2 separate regions of the Homo sapiens genome follow, and region 1 is linked to region 2. The links are contacts of gene promoters, found by promoter capture Hi-C in blood cells and fetal thymus (Javierre and others, 2016). All regions are on one chromosome and are shown on one strand. Each heading gives the region's core, a stretch centred on a gene start or on the middle of the fragment in contact. The rest is flanking DNA. Distances are from core to core; before and after follow the strand shown. Region 1 overlaps TIAL1 (TIA1 cytotoxic granule associated RNA binding protein like 1). Region 2 holds the start of SEC23IP (SEC23 interacting protein).

Region 1 (4,988 bases), core at 1,341-3,840, 310 kb after region 2:
CCTTATGAGTACATATATTTGCATGTCAAACTAGTTTGTATTCTTTCTAGGCAAATTTTTGAGCAGATATTCGGCTGCTGAGTGATGGTTTTGCTTTATTCAGCTTAGTGCTTTTACAAAAATAACCCTGCTTGATAAATGATTTAATAAGTGGTAAGTGTTGTAACTCATGACATGCCTAATAATTTTATTAAATATAATCTTTATTTTTAGGAGGTCAAAGTAAACTGGGCAACCACACCAAGTAGCCAGAAAAAAGATACTTCCAGTAAGTACTCCTGCTGCATTTTACTGTGGAAGAGTTCTGAAATTATCCAGGAGGCATTACCAGCTTAAATAGGTTTTTTTTTCCTCCTCTAGAGTTGCCTTAAAAAGGTTTTAGTGGCTGACTTCTTAAGTATTTGATTACCAAATGCTCTGATTTCAGATCACTTCCATGTGTTTGTTGGGGATTTGAGTCCAGAAATTACAACAGAAGATATCAAATCAGCATTTGCCCCCTTTGGTAAAATATCGTAAGTATCATAATCAGTACTACACTCAGTCATGATAGGCAGAATTGTATATGATTAACTTGTAATTGAATTAAGATTTTCTTTCTCTAGTTAGTATGGTTTTGTTTTGTTTCTTATTTTTCATTTATTTATTTTGGTTTGTTTTGAGTAGTGGATGTTGTTGAAAATGTTAATGTCATTTCAGTGTCTTGGGGTCTCGTTTTCATCTAATCCTGTGTATAATATGTTAAAAAAAATTTAAGTGATTCTGTTTGTTATCTTTGAAGCAGATGTTTGAATGGTAAAACTTATAAAGTCTAGCTTTTTGTCATATGTTTTCAAAATTTGATGGTTTAGGATAATGAGTTAATCAAAAGTAAATGTGATCTATACTGTGTAAGAGTTCAATAACTTTTATAGGAGGAATTTATAAATGGGGGAGAGTAGGTAAATCCTTGGATATATTGTGATTAAATTGGAAATGTTCATGTTTTATTATGATAAATGTGTTTTTGATATTTTAGCTATAAGTGAAAAGTACTATTATACTATTAAAATGTTTCAATGTATGAGTCATAAATGTGGGATTAATTAGATGTTTTTGTTAGTGATATTTGATTCTACTAGTTAAGAGGCAAATGTGGTTTGATTTTTAACAAATTTATGCTCAGATTTTACTGTTGTTACTTGGTAAAAAATATATTGGAAAACTAAAAATGGTTATGAATTGTAGAAAATGTTTATCATAATTTATCTTTCTGATTAAAATCAGTTTATTTTGTATATTTCCTGTAGATTTAAATTAAACATCTTAGTACTACTTTACAGGAAAGTGTTTCAACTAAGAACAACAATATTTTCTCTATACAATTTGTTGTTCTATAGATTTAATTTCTTTAAAAGATGTAATTCTTAACTTTCTGTTTTGATATTTGCTTTGCTTTTTAATCTAAATGTGGTAAGTAGTACTATTTTAAAAATCAATATAAAAATAATACAGGTTGCTGTTTTTCAATCTTTATTTATACCTGAGACCTGCAGTTTTTCTTAAGTCCAAGTCACAATTAAAAGTAATAGCATTCTGGTTATTTTGCAGAATTGCTCATAAGAATGGACAGGATCTTGAAGGCTAACTGCAAGGAACTGTGCACACTGGAACTCAGTTGTAGATTTTTTTTCTCATTTCTATTTATTCTTATTATACATTATTTATATATACATATTTTAGTATTTACATTTTAACATTCTATATTCAGTGGAGTTCTATATTTCCAATCATTTAACTTACTCACTAAAATTTCTGTGTAAATTTGTTGTTTTCGTACTGGTGTGCTTAGCATTGTTGTTAGTTTTTTATTCTCCTTTCTTAAATTTCTGAAAATGTCAATTTTTCAAAATTTACAGCTGCCCAAACTCCAAAATGATGGTAGAGAATTGACCAAGAAAAATAAAGAAATCTGTTAACAGGCCATGTATGCCTTTTTAATTCCTATTTTTTCCTCTTTTTCAATTTTTTAATATTTCATATATTTTGTATCACTAGGCAGAAGACATTTAACTATTTAGAGATTGCATGGTAAAGTAGTTAGTATTGTTACAGTAATTTATAGAATCAGTAAACCTTAGAGGACACTAGTAAATAGAATATTAGAAAGGGAAACTGTTGTTCCTATTAATCTTCAAATTTGAGCATTTAGTTTAGAAAGCACAGGCTATTTGATTAGGTTGCATGTTTATTACATGTTTTTGTCCTACTGCTTTTTTCTAACAGGTAAAGAAGCATTAGGGAGAGTTCAGGAATGGTTGTAGTTAATTAGGGCTAACTGGAATTTTATTTTAAAAATGCTCACAATACAGTGTGTGTGGTTCCTTTTAGTTTTTATTTTGAGGGTGGCTCTTACTTCCCTCATTTAGCTGTGCTTCTTTTCACAGGGATGCCCGGGTAGTTAAAGACATGGCAACTGGAAAATCCAAAGGCTATGGTTTTGTATCTTTTTATAACAAACTGGTACGTTCTTCCATCTCAATTTATATTTTTTAATACTAAATTTAGTCATTAGTTACTTAATGTATTGAATCTGAAACTTGAATATACTTGAATGTTAACTACAAACACAACTTTTATGTAATGTTATGTATGTTTTAATAATAGAGTATAATTTCATTCCTCTTTCATAAACTCGAAAATAAATAGCTAGAAAAAGAATGATTATACTATAAGGAAGATTATTAAAATTGTGTTTGTACATTGGTAAAGGTCAGATGGATTTAGAAGTAAAGCCCAAGTCTAGGACAGATGAGCTAATCTGAGAATTTAGAGGTTAGGTAAATTATATTCAGTTTTAACCATGAAAATCTCAGTTTTAACTCTACCTTTTAAATTATTATTCATACTCTTATATAACTGGGATGTGAATGACTACAACAAATTATGTAAATAAAAATTTAAGCAATTCATCTTGATTTTTGCATATATTCTTTGTAAAAGGGGTACCAAAGTAAGCATTTGCATTAACTGTAACATTAAATAATAAAGTGGGCTTTGATTTTAAAGCAGTTTCAATAACTTAAATCAATGTTTTGTTTTGTTTTGTTTTGTTTTTTTGAGATAGAGTCTCGCTCTGTTGCCCAGGCTGGAGTCCAGTGGTGCCATCTCAGCCCACTGCAACCTCCACCTCCCGGGTTCAAGCGATCGCGCTGCCTCAGCCTCCTGAGTAGCTGGGATTACAAGCATGTGCCACCACACCCAGCTCATTTTTATATTTTTGGTAGAGACATGGTTTCACTTGGGTTCGCCAGGCTAGTCTCAAACTTCTGATCTCAAGTGATCCTCCTGCCTTGGCCTCCCAAAGTGCTGGGATTACAGGTCATCTACATTTTATTGAAGTGGTAAGATAAAGGGCCAGAGTATTCTGTTTTTGCTTAGATTGAATCTCAAGTTCAAATCGTTTTCTAATTGGTAATAGTTCAGTTTCGTTTTGTTTAGGATATTTAGTAAATTCATCTACTGATTTGTATGGAACCAGCAGCGCCGATATTTTATTTCATCTTACAGAGTCTTATTTATCACTCTTTTCTTTGTGATTGTGCTTTCTTTTTTATCCATAGGATGCAGAAAATGCGATTGTGCATATGGGCGGTCAGTGGTTGGGTGGTCGTCAAATCCGAACCAATTGGGCCACTCGTAAACCACCTGCACCTAAAAGTACACAAGAAAGTAAGATATGTCCACTGTGTGTGTTAAAATTATATTCTTCACAAAATCATGTATCATGTATTCATCTAGTCTCAATTTCTAATTTATTTATGTAAGAGACAGGGTCTTGCTCTGTTGCCCAGGCTGGAGTGCGGTGGCATGATCTTAGCTCACTGTAGCCTGAAACTCCTGGGTATAAGTGATCCTTTCACCTCAGCCTCCTGAGTAACTGAGACTACAGGGACATGCCACCATGCCCAGCTAATTTGTAATTTTTTTATAGAGACAGGGTCTGGTTACGTTGTCCAGGCTGACGTAGTATTTAATTAGTGTTGCAAGACTCTAATTATTTCATTTTATATTTCATTATCTGAAAATAATTGGGCTGTGGTATAAGTATTTTTGGAGCTGTGAATCACCTGATTTTATAGATCAAGTCTGTGTCAAATCATAGCATCAAGAAAAATTATGTTTTCTCCTCCCATTGAGGCATATCTTTTTTTTTTTTTTTTTTTTTTTTTTGAGGTGGAGTCTCGCTCTGTCACCCAGGCTGGAGTACAGTGGTGCGATCTCAGTTCACTGCAACCTCCGCCTCGCAGGTTCAAGCGATTCTCCTGCCTCAGCCTCCTGAGTGGCTGGAATTACAGGCGTGTGCCACCACACCCAGCCAATTTTTGTATTTTTAGTAGAGACAGGGTTTCACCGTGTTGGTCAGGCTGGTCTCGAACTCGTGACCTCGTGATCCACCTGCCTCAGCCTCCCAAAGTGCTGGGATTACAGGCGTGAGCCACCGTGCCCTGCCTTAATTTTTGTATTTTTAGTAGAGACAGGATTTCGTCATGTTGGCCAGGCTGGTCTCGAACTCCTGACCTCAGGTGATCTGCCCACCTCAGCCTCCCAAAGTGCTGGGTGCCCGGCCTGAGGCATATCTTAATAGTATATAGTAATTAACAGAAGAGTTTCATAGTACAATATAACAGTCAACGTTTTTGTTTTGTTTCTGCATACAGACAACACTAAGCAGTTGAGATTTGAAGATGTAGTAAACCAGTCAAGTCCAAAAAATTGTACTGTGTACTGTGGAGGAATTGCGTCTGGGTTAACAGGTACAATGTTTGGTTTTCTAATCACCTCTGAGGAGCTTCATCACTGTTCATATGAATTTCATGATACACATCAGCCATGTTTTATTTGTATGTTTTGTTTTATAGATCAGCTTATGAGACAGACATTCTCACCATTTGGACAAATTATGGAAATAAGAGTTTTCCCAGAAAAGGGCTATTCATTTGTCAGGT
Region 2 (5,242 bases), core at 41-2,540:
TGGCAGGGCAAGGACTGGAATACAGACAGTCTGTGCTCTTAAACACTATGCTCTGGGCAATGCTACATAATCATCAAAAAGCAATCTCCCTGGACAATAATACAAATATGAAAAAAGAGCTAGGAGTGCACATAGGAGTGGGGGCCTAAGAGAACAAGAAACAGCTTCTTGGAAGAAGTGATGTATTGTCTTGAAAGATGAGGAATGGGTGGGGGGTTAAACCTGTAATCCCAGCACTTTGGGAGGCCAGGGCAGGCGGATCACTTGAGGTCAGGAGATTGAGACCATCCTGGCCAACATGGTGGAACCCTGTCTCTACTACAAATACAAAAATTAGCCAGGCATGGTGGCAGACGCCTGTAGTCCCAGCTACTCGGGAGGCTGAGGCAGGAGAATCACTTGAACCTGGAAGGTGGAGGCTGCAGTGAGCCGAGATCGCGCCACTGCATTCCAGCCTGGGCGACAGAGCAAGACTCCGTCTCAAAAAAAAAAAAAAAAAAAAAAAGATAAGGAATGCATTGTATATGTCTACTTCACAAATATTACAGGCTTCTAGAAGAGGGGCACAGTCCATCTTATAAGATATCTTACTGTAACCTAGAAGATATTGTACTGTATCACAACAATCTCCTAGTAGGAGACAGTGTACCGTATCCTAGGAGAGGGGCACAGTCCATCCTAGGAGGTATCTTACCGTATCCTAGGAGTCTCCTAGTGGGAGACAGACTACTGTACCCTAGGAGAGGGCCACTGTTTAATTTATTTGCATTTCCTGCCAGCACCTGGCGTACCAACAACGGGTATTCAGCAAAGATTTGCGGAATGCCAGGGTACGAATGAATGTCCAGCACTCTGGACAACTCGGAACAGGGGGTTTCCGTGAAGAGCAAGTCTCATCACCTGCCACCTCCAAGATCCCAAAGCCCCCGACCCACTCAAACCTGGCCAGTAATGATCCTGGCAAGCTATCCAGAGGGTAGCTCGAGGCAGAAGGAAAAACTCCCGTCTGACCTTTGTCATTGCACGTCCCCCGCCCGCCTCCCACCACACACGGGGCCGCCCTCCCCTTATTACCTCCCGGTAAGAGCAGGGAGGCCGGAGAAGCGGAGGCCTGGGTGACTGGGATGAAGGGCACATTGAAGCTGAACTCCGTGGCCGAGGAGGAGAAAAGTAAGTTAGTGCCCGATGAGGAAGTGGAGGCGCCGCCGCTGCCACCGTTAGGTTTTCTCTCGGCCATGGCTGCGGCCCACCGTCCGATACACGTCTCCGGGTACCCGGTACCACACCACTGACCGGAAACCGATCACGCTCCTGGCCAGCGCACTTCCGCACTTGCGCACAGGAGCCGAAATTACGGGTAGCTAGTCAGCCGCCCTCTCCCTTCCCCTACACGGCGACGCCAGATATCAACATGGCGACACTGTCTTCACGCCCGCGTCTAGCACGTGACACCCTCGGAGGCGGAGGCCGGGCGGGAGGATGGGGACGTGGTCCCCGCAGGTTCTGGATAGACGTGCGAATTGAGACGCAATTGACCCTGAAAGTCACAGGTTGTGGCGGGTATCTATGGGCTTCCTAAAGGTACCGTCAGGATGGCTCTCCTGACAAAGATTTTGGAGGAACAGCGGAATCCTGCTGGACGCTACCGGAAGGAGGAAGGGAGGAAGAGCGTTGTGCGGGAATGGGAATTCGCATGCTAGGCGGAACCAAACACCCTCTCCAAAACCCACTTGTCTTTCTGGATGGAACCGAACATTGTGGTTGACCCAGAAATAGAAGTGGTAAAACATTTTTTAAGTGTTTAATCCATAGGGAGAAAAAAATATTTCGTTTTATTTTTGTTGTTTTTTGTTTTGCATTTGTTTTTTGTTTTTTTGGTTGGTTTTGTTTTTTGTTTTGAGACAAGTCTGCTGTGTCGCCCAGGCTGGAGTGCAGCGGTGCAGTCTGGGCTCATTGCAATCTCCGCCTCCCGGGTTCAAGCGATTCTCCTGCCTCAGCCTCCGAGTAGCTGGGACTACAGGCGTCCGCCACCACGCCTGGCTAATTTTTTGTATTTTTAGTAAAGACGAGGTTTCACCGGGTTGGCCAGGATGGTCTCAATCTCCTGACCTCGTGATCTGCCCGCCTTGGCCTCCCAAACTGCTGGGATTATAGGCATGAACCACCACGCCTGGCCAAAAAAAATATTTAAAAGAGAAATCAAACCAGACGCCATGGCGCAGGCCTGCAATCCCAGCACTTTGTGAGGCAGAGCGGGAGGATAGCTTGAGCCCAGAAGGTTGAGACCAACCTGGCCAACATGGTGAAACCCCGTCTCTACTAAAAATACAAAAATTAGCCGGGCTTGGTGGCATAGCACCTATATTGCCAGCTACTCAGGAGGCTGAGGCGGGAATATTGCTTGAGGCCAAATTAACCCTGATCTTGCCACTCACTGTGCAGCGAGACCCTGTCTCCTTAAAAAAAAAAAAAAGAAAAAAAAAGAAACCAGGGCATTGAAATTAGAGATCTGACATTTTAGATAGCTTTCTATATCCACAGTAAGCTGACTTACTTCAATCCAGGAGGTACTGTGGATAACTTGGACATAATTGTCATCTTTCATAGTTAGAGATTTTGAAGGAAAATATAACTTAAGCCATATTTCAGCTTCTTGGAGGTTGGGAGAGGAGATACCAAAAGAACGCTCAAAATAATGAAACTCTGCTCAGCTGTTTACACATATATAGAACCTAAGTTTATTAATTCAATAACGATTTCATGTGCTTACTGTCAAGAAAAATTTTTTAAGTGGGACACTCGTTAAAGCAGTAAATTAGATTTTATTTAATGAAAACTATTGCTAGGGAATTGGGTCCAGCATGAACTGAACACAACTTTGCTGAAACAAAAATTTGGAGGCTTTTTAGAGGCTGTGGTGTGCTAAGGGAAAGGTGCTGAGGAGTGTGAAGGGTTGGTTCGTCCTGCAACTAGGCCATCTGGGTGTGTTAATCCATGCTTATCCAGAGGAGACATAATTTTTCTGTCTTCATGACAAGCAGTGGTGTAAGAGAGCAAGGTAGCCACAGGGACTGGGAATGAGAATGAGAACCACCTCCTTGAAGGCTTGCAATTCAAGAGACAAACCCCCAGGTCCTTGAGAAGACAGTTCTCAGTGGTCATGTGTCCGGAGTTGGTTCCTTCCGGTGGGTTCTTGGCCTCACTGACTTCAAGAATGAAGCCGCGGACCTTTGTGGTGAGTGTTACAGCTCTTCAAGGTGGCACAGACCCAGAGTGAGCAGCAGCAAGATTTATTGTGAAGAGCGAAAGAACAAAGCTTCCGTAGCGTGGAAGGGGACCTGACTGGGTTGCTGCTGCTGGCTCGGGTGGCCAGCTTTTATTTATTTATTTGTCACTGCCCTCATCCTGCTGCTTGGTCCATTTTACAGAGCGCTGATTGGTCCATTGTAAAGAATGCTGATTGGTGCATTTACAATCCTTTAGCTAGACACAGAGTGTTGATTGGTGCATTTTTACAGAGTGCTGATTGGTGCATTTACAATCTTCTAGCTAGACACAGAGCACTGATTGGTGTGTTTTTACAGAGTGCTGATTGGTGCATTTACAGTCCTTCAGCTAGACACAGAGCACTGATTGGTGCATTTACAATCCTCTAGCTAGACAGAAAAGTTCTCCAAGTCCCTACTCAACCCAGGAAGTCTAGCTGGCTTCACCTCTCAATCCCCCCTCTAAAGAGGACACCCCAAGAGCTGTTGGGAATTGGGCAATGACCTCTGTAGCTACTTCCTGCTGGATGGGTTGAAGAAGGAGCCCTGCAGTTGTAGTGTCCTCCAGAGGGGAACTCTTTATGCCAGTCAAAGGGCCAGCGGGTTGGTGCAGGGGTCCTCAGTAGAAGTTGTTAGTTGAGCTCATTGGGGTTCCATTTGTAAGACCATCTGTAGCTTGATGGCCTCAATCCTAGAGGAAACAAATTTGACAAGGAGGTTAAAAATACAGGGCCCGAAGGTGAATAATAGCAAGATGGCCATCACAGGACCTAGAAAGGGGAAATGCCATATCGCCCAACTCCAGAGGTTGATATAAGAGTTTGAAAGGCGTTGTCTGATTTCAGAAGCCTTTTCCTGTAAACACCAGGCGGCACCTCATCCTATCCCTGACTGGTTAGTGTAAAAGCAACACTCTTCCCCTAAGAAGGTGCAAAGTCCTCCTTTCTCAGCAGTGAGGAGGTCTAGGCCTCGGTGGTTTTGGAGGGTCACTGCTGCCAAAGAGTCTATTTGGAATTGTAGAATAAGGATAGATTTTGTTATTTCTTGCAAACTGTCTGAGAAATCCTTTGAGAGTGTGTGGTAGTAGGATAATATATGTTACACTGTTAACTTTTAGCAAACTTTACTTTTGTTGAAAACCTTGTAAGTTTGGGATTTCAATTATTCTTTGTATTAATAAGACCTTGTTCAATCCATATTAACTTACAATTGGTATAGATGGCTTCTTCCTGATTCTGTGAGTACTTTAAGGTTTGGCTGAGTACTGATAGCTGGAGCACGTTTGAACAGACCAATTATTAGGCAATTTTCCTAACTCTGCTTCTACAAGAGTTTCCTTATCACTTACTGAATACTCATTGTGTCTTTCTCCCTTAATCGCTGGGGAGGAACCAGCTATAGTCCTGTCCTGAAGGGAGTTCCTCCTAGATCTGGTTGGACCTTTGTATGGTAATTAAGATTTAGATCCCCTGTTAGGAAACCTGCTGGGTTAAGGATTTTTGATAGGAAGGCTATGGGTTGTCAGTGGCCTCAGTGCTTTCGGGCTATGCCCTTGTTTACACTGACAACCAGGTGGTGTTGGAGTGTTACAGGGTCATGGAGAAGACCTTCAATTATCAATTATAGGTTTTAAATTTACTCTGGCTTTTAAAGGAATAGGGTACACTGTTTTTTCTTTACTACTTCTCTCCCTTTCTCTCTTTCTTTCTCTTTGACTTTCTGTCTCTTTCTCTCTTTGACTCCTTTTTTGTCTCTGTCTCTTTCTCTCTCTCTCTTCGACTTTCTGTCTTTCTCTCTTTCTTTCCTTCTCTCTGCTGGTCTTTCCCTGCTTCTGCCAGCCGCATATGCTGCTATGCTGCTGTTCTCCCCTCTCCTTCCCCTTTTTGATGGCTTCAGCAGTGTAAGACTGCCACCTCCTTGGGTTTTTGCACTGCATGCAACAACTCCATGATTTCCTTGTGGTATTTAGTGGGGGT

The links. The method cuts DNA at HindIII sites, captures the fragments that hold promoters and counts their contacts. A CHiCAGO score of 5 or more calls a contact.
Region 1: a fragment that was not itself captured here is called in contact with the fragment with the promoter of SEC23IP in region 2 in 1 of 17 cell types (total B cells); the score reaches 5.4 in total B cells.

Annotation. Positions count from the first base shown.
Region 1 is chr10:119,577,449-119,582,436 of GRCh38, reverse strand. TIAL1 (TIA1 cytotoxic granule associated RNA binding protein like 1) reads left to right here. Exons shown (of 12, transcript NM_003252.4): 4 at 214-268; 5 at 428-515; 6 at 2,427-2,502; 7 at 3,603-3,711; 8 at 4,701-4,796; 9 at 4,902-4,986. Among named protein-coding and RNA genes, the nearest start is that of TIAL1, 17 kb to the left of the region's middle. The HindIII fragment of the contact is 5,652 bases long and covers 1-4,988 here.
Region 2 is chr10:119,888,778-119,894,019 of GRCh38, reverse strand. SEC23IP (SEC23 interacting protein) reads right to left here and starts at 1,290. Exons shown (of 19, transcript NM_007190.4): 1 at 1,075-1,290. The coding sequence starts at 1,237. RefSeq lists enhancers at 1,042-1,552, 1,553-2,063, 2,064-2,575, 4,376-4,914. The HindIII fragment of the contact is 6,362 bases long and covers 1-3,318 here.